Regions from separate parts of the Homo sapiens genome. Here regions 1 and 2 are each linked to region 3. Evidence: promoter capture Hi-C in 16 types of primary human blood cells and fetal thymus (Javierre and others, 2016). All regions are on one chromosome and are shown on one strand. The core of a region is centred on a gene start or on the middle of the fragment in contact, and the rest is flanking DNA. Distances in the headings are between cores, read along the strand shown. Region 1 overlaps TSPAN18 (tetraspanin 18). Region 2 overlaps TSPAN18 (tetraspanin 18). Region 3 holds the start of SYT13 (synaptotagmin 13).

What was found. Contacts are between HindIII fragments. The CHiCAGO score rates a contact against its expected background, and 5 or more counts as called.
Region 1: a fragment that was not itself captured here is called in contact with the fragment with the promoter of SYT13 in region 3 in 1 of 17 cell types (naive CD8 T cells); the score reaches 5.3 in naive CD8 T cells.
Region 2: a contact is called between a fragment that was not itself captured here and the fragment with the promoter of SYT13 in region 3, in 2 of 17 cell types (M0 macrophages and M1 macrophages). The highest score is 8.2, in M0 macrophages.

Annotation. Positions count from the first base shown.
Region 1 is chr11:44,894,082-44,897,672 of GRCh38, forward strand. The region is part of intron 3 of TSPAN18 (tetraspanin 18); the gene reads left to right. Among named protein-coding and RNA genes, the nearest start is that of TP53I11, 55 kb to the right of the region's middle. The HindIII fragment of the contact is 5,473 bases long and covers 1-3,591 here.
Region 2 is chr11:44,919,670-44,923,393 of GRCh38, forward strand. TSPAN18 (tetraspanin 18) reads left to right here. Exons shown (of 10, transcript NM_130783.5): 8 at 148-330. Among named protein-coding and RNA genes, the nearest start is that of TP53I11, 29 kb to the right of the region's middle. RefSeq lists an enhancer at 3,129-3,630. The HindIII fragment of the contact is 5,797 bases long and covers 1-3,724 here.
Region 3 is chr11:45,284,630-45,288,450 of GRCh38, forward strand. It overlaps SYT13 (synaptotagmin 13), which reads right to left and starts at 1,712. Exons shown (of 6, transcript NM_020826.3): 1 at 1,396-1,712. The coding sequence starts at 1,578. RefSeq lists an enhancer at 1,107-1,893. The HindIII fragment of the contact is 1,062 bases long and covers 1,287-2,348 here.

The DNA.
Region 1 (3,591 bases), core at 1,092-3,591, 390 kb before region 3:
TGCCGGGAGCGCAGGAAGGAGGGAACGGGGTGTGCAGCCTGTCAAGTCCTTTCACCCTCATCATCCCCTTGCATCCTCCTGGAAAGGATCCTAGAAGTTAGTTCTGAACATCCCCACCTCCCAGATGCGGAGGTGAGGCTCTGGAGGTGAGGCGTCTGGCTCAGGCTTATGGCTGGCACAGGCAGATCCCCCACTGGTGGGAACGCAGTTGCAGGGGAACACACGGTCCTCTGAGGCTCTGCCCTTGGCCACAGCGCCCTCTCCTGGCCAGGGCACGTGCAAGCCCTTTCTCGGCTCTGCACCAGCCCAAACCTTCCTCCACTGGGGGCTTCTCCATCTCTCTTGTCCGGCCGCCTCCTTTCCTTCTCTCTAGAAAGCATGCCTGGGGGCGGGGGGGAGTGAAAGTAAAAGGAGTGATTTATGAACTGAGCTGTTCTTCTTAATCAGAGAGCCCCTCCTGGGCCCCTGCTCCGTGCAGATGGGGCTGAGCCGCCATCTGGGCGACAGGAGGGGCGAGATTAATAAAGCTGTCTGGCCCGGGCAGGGGTCCGCCGAGGAAAGCCCCGAGGCACTGCGTGACCTCGGTCCCATCTCTGTGCCTTTCTGGGCCTCAGGGCTCCCATCTGTCAAGGGATGGCCGGCCTGGGCCATCCCCAAGGGCCTCCAGCTGGCTCAGGGAAGAAGTTTAGCCAACTTCCTGGGCCTCTGTGCCTCGCTGCCTGGTTCAGGGAAGAGCAGCACTGGGCTGGAGACTTTGCAGACTGGGGCACGGCGCTTCCTGTCTCTGGTGCCACACCCCACGGATAGGTGTCGTATCAGGAGCTCTGGTTTGGGGTCCAGCTGACTTGGGGCTAAATCATAGCCATGTTTTGCTAACCAGGTAAATGAACTCAGACGAGTTAGTTACCCTGCCCACGCTTCAGTTTCCTCATCTGTAAAATGGGATAATAATAATACCCACCTCCTAGGTAAGGATTAAATAAGAGGACAGGTAGGAGAAAGGTATAGTGGAGTCTGGTACATGGTAAAACCTCAATCCTAGTAGTTATTAGGCTCAGTTACCACAAAATTGTGGCAATTTGTTAGAATTTGGGTCTGTTTAGGGGAAAGATGTTTGTATCCACGCTACCCAAGCCATGTGTCCATGGTTCTCCCCTATACCCTGCTCCATTCATAACTGGTGAATGTGGGCTGGGCATCCACTTATTTCCAATATCTGATGCTGCTGATAATAATAGCTCCCATGGTACTGTGAATTCTTACAACCACCTTTGGCTTCCAAATTCATCATCACAGTTTTCCAAGGAGAACCTAGCACCTTGGAGAGGGGGGTGACTTTCCCAAGGTCTCCAGGGAGCTGGCCAAGGCAGAAACCAACCCAGCCTCTGCAGAAGCATCAGTGATGGGGTGAGCATGGCAGGTGTCACTGGGCTGTCCTCTTCCAGGACAAATGAGCCAGTCAATAGGATGGGGGCTCACAGAGGACAAAGAAAAAAAGGGAAATGAAGTTAGTTCAGGGAAGTTGGGACACCACAAGGGGTGAGCCCATTCCCAGCCAGGGTACAGCATTCAAAGGGGCTGGAGCTCCCTGGTGGGGAGGAGGCAGGCAACCGCCAGACATTCCCCAGAGTTCAGCATCTCCTCCTTGTCTCTGGGTTGGCCTATGTCATCCATGTTTCTCATATCAGCCTCAGTGTCCAGACGGAGATGAGGCAGGGAATGGTGATACAGGGGACCAGGACTGGGATGCAGCAGGAGAAGAGAAGCGGCAGGAAACCCATCACCCCGTCCTTGTTTCCCTGAGCCCTGGGGCTGGGCATGGGGTGCAGGCCCTGAACTACAAAGCTGGAAACAGCTTGAAATCTCCCGAGGATGCTTGGCCTTGTCACTGGCATCTCCAAGCCTCAATTTCATTCTGTAAAAACCACTCACCTGTGTGCCCATGGTTATTTGCACCTTGCACTCCCTGGCACTTCCCCGGCACATAGTAGCAACTCAATGTACATCTACTCAGTGGATGGTAGATGGCTGACTGGGTGGATTGAGGGAGGAAGGGAGGGATGGGTAAATGGGGAGGAATCTTTCACCCACCACCCCTTCACTGACCCCAGTGAACCTGTGGTAGCCTGCCTCGTGGGCTATTGTGAGGATTCATTGTGATCACACAGGAAGAGAAAGCACTTTCTGTAAACGCCACTTTTGACTCTGACCCCTGAGTTTGGATTCCAGCCCCATCACTTACCAACAGTGTGATGTTGGACAAGTCAATTCTCTCTCTTTTCCCATTGGACTCAGTTTCCCCATTGTACTGTGGGGATGATGGTGTGATACCTACTTCATAGGGTTGTTCTGAGCATTTCATGGGCTCACGCATGCCAGCACTGTACCCCAAGTGCACGGAGTACCTGAAGCTGGTGCACACAGATGGGGCAGGCAGTTGAAGGGCCTGTCACATAGGTATGTTTAGGCCAAATAGGGGTGCCAGCTCCCGGGGCTGTGGCCATGTCTCAGGAGGGAGGCCTCTTCTCCTGCCTTTCCATCTTCCCATCTCTACCTCTGCACTCCCCCAAGACTAGCCTTCACCATCCCCTTCCCCACAGTTCCTCTCCCCTCTGCCCAGAGTTATGCCGGTGGAGTTAGTCCTCCCCACTGTGGGTTCCCCAGCCCTGCTGTTATCTGCCTCCTTGTCTCCTCCACGCTGCCACCACCACCACCACCACTACCACCACTCACTTGTGTGCCCATGCTTATTTGCACCTCACACTCTCTGGCACAGCCCCTGGCACATAGTAGCAACTCAGTGTACGTCTACTGAGTGGATGGTAGGTGGGTGAGTGGGTGGGTTGAGGGAGGAAGGGAGGGATGGGTAAATGGGGAGGAATCTTTCACCCACCACCCCTTCACTGACCCCAGGCAGGCTCGTACTTGGAGGGATTTTGGATAGACATGGATATCTCTCCCTTCCTTCCCTAGGAACACCCCCACAGCCCAGGCTTCCCCAGGTCCCAGGTCTTCCTGGGACTGTCCTCTAACCCAAAGTTTGAGCAGGAGCTGGCTGTGGAATTCCCCGCAGGAGTGATAGAACAGGAGTCTCCATATGGGCCTGTTTTGACTTCTGAAATCGAACCCTCATTTCCACTGCTGGGAGCTGGCCCTCTGAAGGAACCTTCTCACAAATCCTTATGCAAAGCCAAGAAACACTTTCCAGCATCAAATCTCTCTCTCCTGGGAGTCTGGGTTTTGGGGGAGGAAGTTGATGAACAGGGCCCTGCTGGCACTCTCTCTGCTGAAGTATTGTGGATGCCTGGGTGGCATCCATGGATGCAGGTTACTCACACCCATCATCTCCTCCCAGGCCATCAGCCTCATGTGCAGCCGTGTCAGCATACATGAAGCCCATGCTAGAATCTGCAAGTCTATTAAAGATGTGCCTTCCAAGGCAGCACCTGCAAAGGCACCCAGGAGCTGCCATCTGGGCAGAAGGCCACTCCCCCGCTGGAGTGGCCTCAGGTGCTGAGAGCTTTTCATGAGCTCTAATGGGCCCAGATTAGCAGGACAGTTGCCCCGAGTGTGTGTATCTGGAGGGCGGGT
Region 2 (3,724 bases), core at 43-2,542, 370 kb before region 3:
CCCATGGTCACACAGTGGTGACAGGTGGAGCCCGCCCACACCCAGTCTTCTGATGCCACTCCTTTGCAGAGGCTGTATGTCCTTCTCTGTCCCCGCCCCTGTGTCCTCCTCCTGCCCACCAGAACCTTCTCTGGGATCTCCCCCTAGTTTGGTTGCTGCGGGGTCAACGGGCCTGAAGACTTTAAGTTTGCATCTGTGTTTCGACTCCTGACCCTGGATAGTGAAGAGGTGCCGGAGGCCTGCTGCCGGAGGGAACCCCAAAGTCGGGACGGGGTCCTGCTGAGCCGGGAGGAGTGCCTCCTGGGAAGGAGCCTATTCCTAAACAAGCAGGTACTGGCCCTGCTCTCCAGACAGGGGAGTGGGTCTATCGGGATTTGGGTGGCCAGAGCTGGGTGGGAGGCGCTATCACCCCAGAGGGTCTGAAGCTACCCCAGGAATCCCAGGGAAGTGTTGGCCATGATATGGGATGCCTGCACCTGAGCAGGGGCTGATGGAGGCTCTCTGTCCAAGCCCCTGAGATCCAACCAAAATGGGGAAGGATGACAGTGGCAGATGGTCTGCCGCTGGAGTGGGCATTCAGGCTGGGGCTAAGGGGTGAGTAGGAGTTTCCCGATGTTTCCTGAGTTTCTGATAATGCAGGTCCAAAGGGAGGGAGGGGGACAGAACCAGAATTGCACAGTGGGGGGCCCTTCTTAGCCATGCACTGTATTTTGGAGGAAGCTCTTATTTGCCATGTGGGGCACCCTAAGGGAGCAAGGTCTCCTTGACCTGACTCTCCAAGGTCAGAGAAGCTCCTAGACTTCAGGTTCTCTTGCAACCTGAGGACTTCCTCGCAGCCTTGGAAGAAACCCTTTCCCTTCCTGCACGTGCCATTTCTAGGGAAGACAAGCGCCTGGCTTTGTGTGCCTCCTGCCCACACACCCTTATGAGTTCACAATGCCCTTGCTCTTAATCCCCTTCTTCCCACTGACCAGCCCCCACTCTGCCAGTGTGGGTGTGTGACCAGGCTAGGCAGGAGGAGAGGGAGGGAGAGGACGAGGGTGATCTAAGCCTGGGCCCCAGCCCCCTTGCTTGAGTAGGACTTTAACGAGGGTCTCATGGAGAGTTCCAGATGCAAGAGACACAGCAGGGGACAGGAGACAAGGCCCCTGTTCCTGCGAGGCTCACGATCTCATTAGAGGACGCGCAAGATGAACAAGCAGCAAACTAATGAGAAGTAATCATTTCACATGGTCATGATTGCTGCGAAGAAATAAAACCAGATGAGGGGCTAGAATGGGCCTTGGGTGGGGGCTCAAGGCAGAACTTGCAAAGTCCCAGAGGAGGTGACAGTGAGCAGAGGCCTGGGTCCTGGGGCTCTGGCGGGCCCTTTCCAGCCTCAGCTCTGCCCCAGGAACTCAGCCCCTCTGGCCCTGGCACATCCCCATGGATTCCTGAGGCCCTGAGGGCCACGTTCTCTCTGTCCCTCATCACCCTGCCTTCCTGCATTGGGGGAAAGAGGCTCAATAGAGAAATGAGGGCCCTGAGTTGAGGCCACTGTGGACGTGGGGCAGAGAGACCTGCCGTGGGGAGCAGCTGCAGGGCGGGGAGGGGAGTTTCAGGCTTCCATGGCAGGCAGGGGTGGGCTGTTAACTGCTGTGTTGCCTTCGCCAAGACACCCTCGCTGGACCTCAGATTCCATATGTTGGCAGAGGCTGCTGGCTGCCCCCCACGATCCATTCACCCCTACTCTCTTGGGAAGGGAATGGTTATCACACCCCATGACCACCAGCTAGAGGCTGCACTTCCCAGCCTGCCTTGCAGCTAGACCATGTAACCGAGTTCTGGCTAACGGGAGGTGAGCAGAGGTGATTTGTGCAACTTGAGTCACATCCTTAAGAGAAAGTGCTGTGCCCACCCCTCCTTTTTTCTCTGGCTAGGACTTGGCAGAGGGAGGTGGCCCCTAGGATGGCAGAGCATCCAGAGAGAAGGAGCCTGGGCCACGTACAGTTCCATGGCATACAGCGGCCACCATAGCGTGGGGTTTATGTGAAAGACCAGTGAATTTGTAACTTGGTGAAGGAGCTGTTGTTTGAGATGCCCGTTGCCAACAGCCAAACTTAGAACCTTTTAATGCTACTTGTAAGTTTTCAGGAGGCTTCCCATGGGCCGCATTCCCCGCATCAGATGTGCTTCCCATTTCTGGACTCATCCTCCGTTAGGATGTCTCCTTTCCTCTCCTGGGCATGTCTTCAAAATCAGAGCTCATCAGAGAGGTCCCTGCACAGCCACATTCATTCTTTCCAGTGACTCTGTTGTTCCTGAGGGTCTGAGACTGGCTCCTGGGGTTTCTTTGCTGAGACATTCATGTCCCTCCTAGGCATTTCGTCCCGTTAAAAATCTGCTGCTGTGGAACTGTCTCTATTTGTCTTTTCCTCCAAAGCCCTCTTGCTTAAAGCCCAGGATGCATTTTTTTTTTTTTTTTTGAGACTGAGTCTCGCTCTGTCGCTCAGGCTGGAGTGCAATGGCACAATCCTGGCTCACTGCAACCTCCACCTCCAGGGTTCAAGTGTTTCTCCCACCTCAACCTCTCAAGTAGCTGGGACTACAGGCACATGCCACCATACCCAGCTAATTTTTGTATTTTTTGGTAGAGACCGGCATTTCACCATGTTGTCCAGGCTGGTCTCAAACTCCTGACCTCAAATGATCCACCCTCTTGGCCTCCCCAAGTGCTGGGATTACAGGCATGAACCACCATGTCCGGCCCTAGGATACATTTCTGACTTTGCTGGCAGGCCCATGGCAAGGATCTGGGAAGAGTTGAGTTCACTGTGGGGGTTGGGGTGGGGGTGAGGTGTGCAGGGATGCATGGCGTGGCCACAGGGACATCCTAGTTGCTCTGTGGCCCCCTGGTCCACATTGGTGGTGGACCTGGGTAGACAGGGGGCTTTTATACTGGTGCCAGTGAGAAAGGACAGCAGGTAAGACCAGGGTGATGGCGGTAAAGACAGAGAGGTGTGTGGATCTGAGAAATGTTCAGGAGGCAAAATCTACCAGCCTTCGTGATGGGTCCTCATTGGAGGAGGGGCAGGAGGAGGTGCTGAGTGACTGGCTTCTGGTTTGGGGACGATCTTGCATTCAGTCTGGGGCATGTTGCGTCTAAGAAACCTTTGGAGGCCAGGCACGTTGGCTCACGCCTGTAATCCCAACACTTTGGGAGGCCGAGGCGGGCGGATCACCTGATGTCAGGAGTTCGAGACCAGCCCAGCCAACACGGAGAAACCCCGTCTCTACTAAAAATACAAAAATTAGCCTGGCGTGGTGGCATGTGCCTATAATCCCAGCTACTTGGGAGGCTGAGGCAGGAGAATCACTTGAACCCGGGAGGCGGAGGTTGCGGTGAGCTGAGGTCATGCCACTGTGCTTCAGCCTGGGCAGCACAGTGAGACTCCATCTCAAAAAAAAGAAAAAAAGAAGCCTTTGGAACAGCTGAGCAGAGGTGTCCAGTGGGCAGCTGGGTGTATGGGGTGGAGCTGGAGGGGTCGGTGCTGGAGATGTACGTGTGGGAAGCATTGCGTGTGGGTGACCCATTGTGGTGGCAACCAGGCCTGGCTGCCCCTCATCAGATTAGGTGGGTGGTGACTGTGGGTGGCAGCAGGGGGTGGGGGATGTGCCCACCCAGCAGAGAGGGAGGATGGCACTGGCAACAGCCCACATGGTTAGAAGACTCATAGTCTGTGGT
Region 3 (3,821 bases), core at 462-2,961:
CCCAGTGGTTCTCTCTAGGAAGGGGAGGGGGCGGTGCCTGGAGAGACATCACTGAAAGGCAGAAGAGTGGCTGTTCCTCAAGTGTGTTGGGCAGGAAAGAAGGTTGAGAGGCGGCCGACCACGACTTGTGGAGAAGGACTCCCAACACCTGGCCAGTGGAAAGCCCACTATTCCCCTTTTCCAGATCGTCCCAAGTCCCACATTCTGCTGTGCAGCCGGCTCCTATTTAGCCACTGTCAATGTCACTGTTCTTGGATTATAAGTGCCTCAAGGACAGCAGCCATTTCCTTTCCACTCTCACTGTACAGTGACTGACACAGGCCCCACACAACTGGGTCCTCTGAGCTTTTGAATTATTGATTGGAAAAAGGAAGATGGAGTCACAGCATTTTAGTGCCACTCCTGGAACCATACAGTCTATAAGGGATCTAGAGGGCCTTTAGGAGGTCCTTTAAGTCATGCCCCTGCCCCAGGGCCATCCTTCCTCAAATCACTCTAGCAGGACTCTTTGCCTCCTGGTTCTCCAGAGAACATTCTGCATTCTGTACTTTGGAAATGCATCCTGGAGGTCACAGCCTATGCAGGGAAATCCTTCCAAACTGCTTCCCCAGACCCCTTCTGCTGCTCTTTACAATGGGAGCACGGGCTATTTCCTGCACGAAGGGGCTCTGGCCATGAGCAAATGCATGGGATAAAAGCCCTCCTGTCTCCAGGGACGTCTGCAGAGACATCTTGGGGGAGGCCATACCAACCCCCTCTGACTGGCTGGAGCTCAGAGCTGCTAGGGGGTGGGGAAGAGTCCTTCAGGTTCCTCCCGGATTCAGCTCTCTAGACCCCGCTAGCTAGCTTCCCAGCTCCTGCGGGACCGCGGCCACCTCCCCTCTGGCTTTGCAGGCATTACCTCTTCTCAGCTCTGGCAGGACTTGCCCTACCCTGGCTCCACAACCACCACCCATCTCCCTCTCACAGACCCCAGTCTTCTTCCCAATTCTGCAAACTCCTCATTCTCTGGTACCTCTCAGGGTCTTCCCTAACCCTGGCGATTCCCCTCCCAGCCTCCCTCTCCTCTTACCCTTCCCAGCCCTAATTCTTATCCAGGTCCCCTTTCCTGTCCCCTCCCTTTAGGTCTCGCTGCTGGCCCCCATTCTTCTCTCAGTCCCCACAAGCTCGCCGCTCCCTAATTCTCCTTCAGGTCTCGTCTCCCCCATCCCCTAGCCTCCCCCATCCCCCTACCTTTTTGACTCCTTGACCTGTCCTCCAACGCGTCTGCTGTCCCCTCCCCGCCAAGCTTTGTCGCGCAAAGATCCACGACCGCCTCCCACCCCAGTTCCCCCTCTGCAGCTGCCCGGCAACCCCGCCTTGCCCGGGAAGGGCCTGCGCGCCGCCCCCGCTCACCTGTTGTGCAGACCCGAGCAAGCTGGGCTTCGCCTTCTCCAGGTCGGGGTCCTGGTCCCGCGGCAGCAGCCCCTTCTTGGGGTGCATGTGCCGACACAGGCAGGTGACCCCGCACAACGCGAGGATGCTGGTGGCTGTGCCCAGCGTGGCGCCCAGCGCGATCACAGGCACCGACAGCACCATGGTGCCCGCTCCCGGCGAGGGGCTGGGTCCCGCAGCCGCTCACCTTCCCCGGGCCGGGCCCGCCTCCAGGCAGCTCCCGGGATCCGGGCGAGCCAGCAGCTCTCCCGCCGCCAGAGGGGCGGGGACGGAGGGAGGGAGGACGGCTGCGAGGACGTCAGAGGAGGCTGGACCCGCAGCCACGTCAACCGGCAACCCCCTCCCCGCCAACACGTGACCGGACCCCCACCCCAACAGGAGCCGGAGCCTTCCAGGTGGAAGGAGCCTTGGGGTTGTTTCAGGCCATTCTTAATGCTTTGTGTACAACAGGGGACAACTGGGCCCAAGAAGTGCTGGAGCTTGCGGAGGTCACACTGTGTTAGAGGACAAACCTGGGCTCCAACCAGATCTGCGACTCTAGGAGTCACTTTCCCAGACTACTAGCTCCTTGCTCACCCTTCTACCCCAGCAGCTGGCCAAGCTGGCTGTAAAATTGGGTCTTCCGGGAGCTTTTTCAAACACAAAGCTGGAGATTTCCCAGCTCCCCAACCTGGGAGATGGTTCTTACAGGGAAGAGGAACAGGCCACAGGTAGAGGGAACAGATGGGATGTTTGGGTTGAGGCTGTACCTGTGTCCTGCTGAAGATGGACAATACAGCTGCATCCCCTTAAGGGTTGCCCAAGAGTTCACCTTTATTACCTAATCAGCAGGTATTCGCACCTTTATATATAGTTGAGGAAGCCGAGGCTCAGAAGAGAGGTGCACAGGTAGAAAAATCATCACCCTGAACCCAAGCTTATGTTTGCAGATTCCAAGTCCACACTCAAACGGACTTGTCTTAGGAGGATAAAGAAGATAAAATGCAGCAGCTAGGAGTACACACTTGATTCAGAGAGGGTGAGCATAAAACTATGCTTAGAACAAGGGGAAATTAGAATTCCGGGCATGAGGACTGTCTTAGCTCAAGAAAACAGTGGCTTTTTAGTGTTCTTCATTATATGGAGTGTTGAATTTAATTCAGCAGATATTTGCTGTGGGTTGGCTGTGCTCTAGGTGTGCTGGGCATGTGTGAAAAGGGATGTAGGTGATTTCATCCACAACAGAGCTTTCACATTTCTATGAGCCAATGTCTCCTAAATCTATAGCCTCTCCAGCCAGACCTTTTCCTCTGAGCTGTAGCTGTGACCACCACCTGGGAACCCACCCGTCCTCCAGTTTTTCAGCTATCTACACTTGCATAAAAACCCACCGATGACTTACTGGCTTAGACCAGTTATTGTGTTACTTGTCATGATTTCATGGGTTGGCTGGGCTCAGTTGGGTGGTTTTCCTGCTCAACATGTTGTCTTCTGGGACTGCAGTCATCTAGGGGTTCAGCTGGACTGGGACATCAGCTCTCCAGACACCATTGCAGATGGTGCAATGGTGAACTCACGTGGTGAGCAGTAGGTGCTGGCTGCCACTGGGATCACAATGGGGCTGTCAGCTGGTGCATTTTGGTTGTCCTCTATGTCACCTCTCCATGGTGCTGGAGCTGCTCACAGCATGCTGGCTGGATTCTAAGAGGAATGAAGCAGAAGCTGCCAGTTGTCTTAAGGCCTGGGTTCAGAAATTCTAGAACACTATTTGATCAAAACAATAGTCTCCCTCTAGTTCTTTCCTTCAGTGACATCAAAAGGAGGTGTCCAAAATACAAAGCTGATCATGTCACTCACAGCTCTCAAAGGTTCTCCAAGAATAAACCCAAGAGACTCAACCTTTATCCAAATCCCTTTGTGATGTGGTCCCTGCTAAGCCTTCCAGACTCCTCTCTACACACTTCCCAATGTGCCCCTGAGCCTCAGCCACCCCATGGACTTGGGATTCCTTCAACAAGCTAACATCTTTAGAGTCTCCATGTTATCACCCATGGGTGCATATAGCAGGCACTCAGTAACCGTGGAATAATTCATATGATCATCTTATGCAGAATTTCCAGTGTTTTGAAGGAATCCCATTTGTGATATGAGCTCCATTTTAGTAAACTGACTTTTCCACAAGTATTTATTGTGTGCCTGCTGTATGCCAGGCACATTTTCCTACTGATCCCCATTTGCTGCAAACTGTAGAGCTGAAGCACTGCAGTCCCTGGTGACAGCCTTAGCAATCTCTCACATAAGAGCTGCCCTGGGAGGTTTTCTTGGCTCCGGGCCTGGCAATGCAAAATGTTTTGTGGAAATAGAGGTTTAATTAATGCTGTCAGCTCCAGGTCTCCCATGCTCAAACG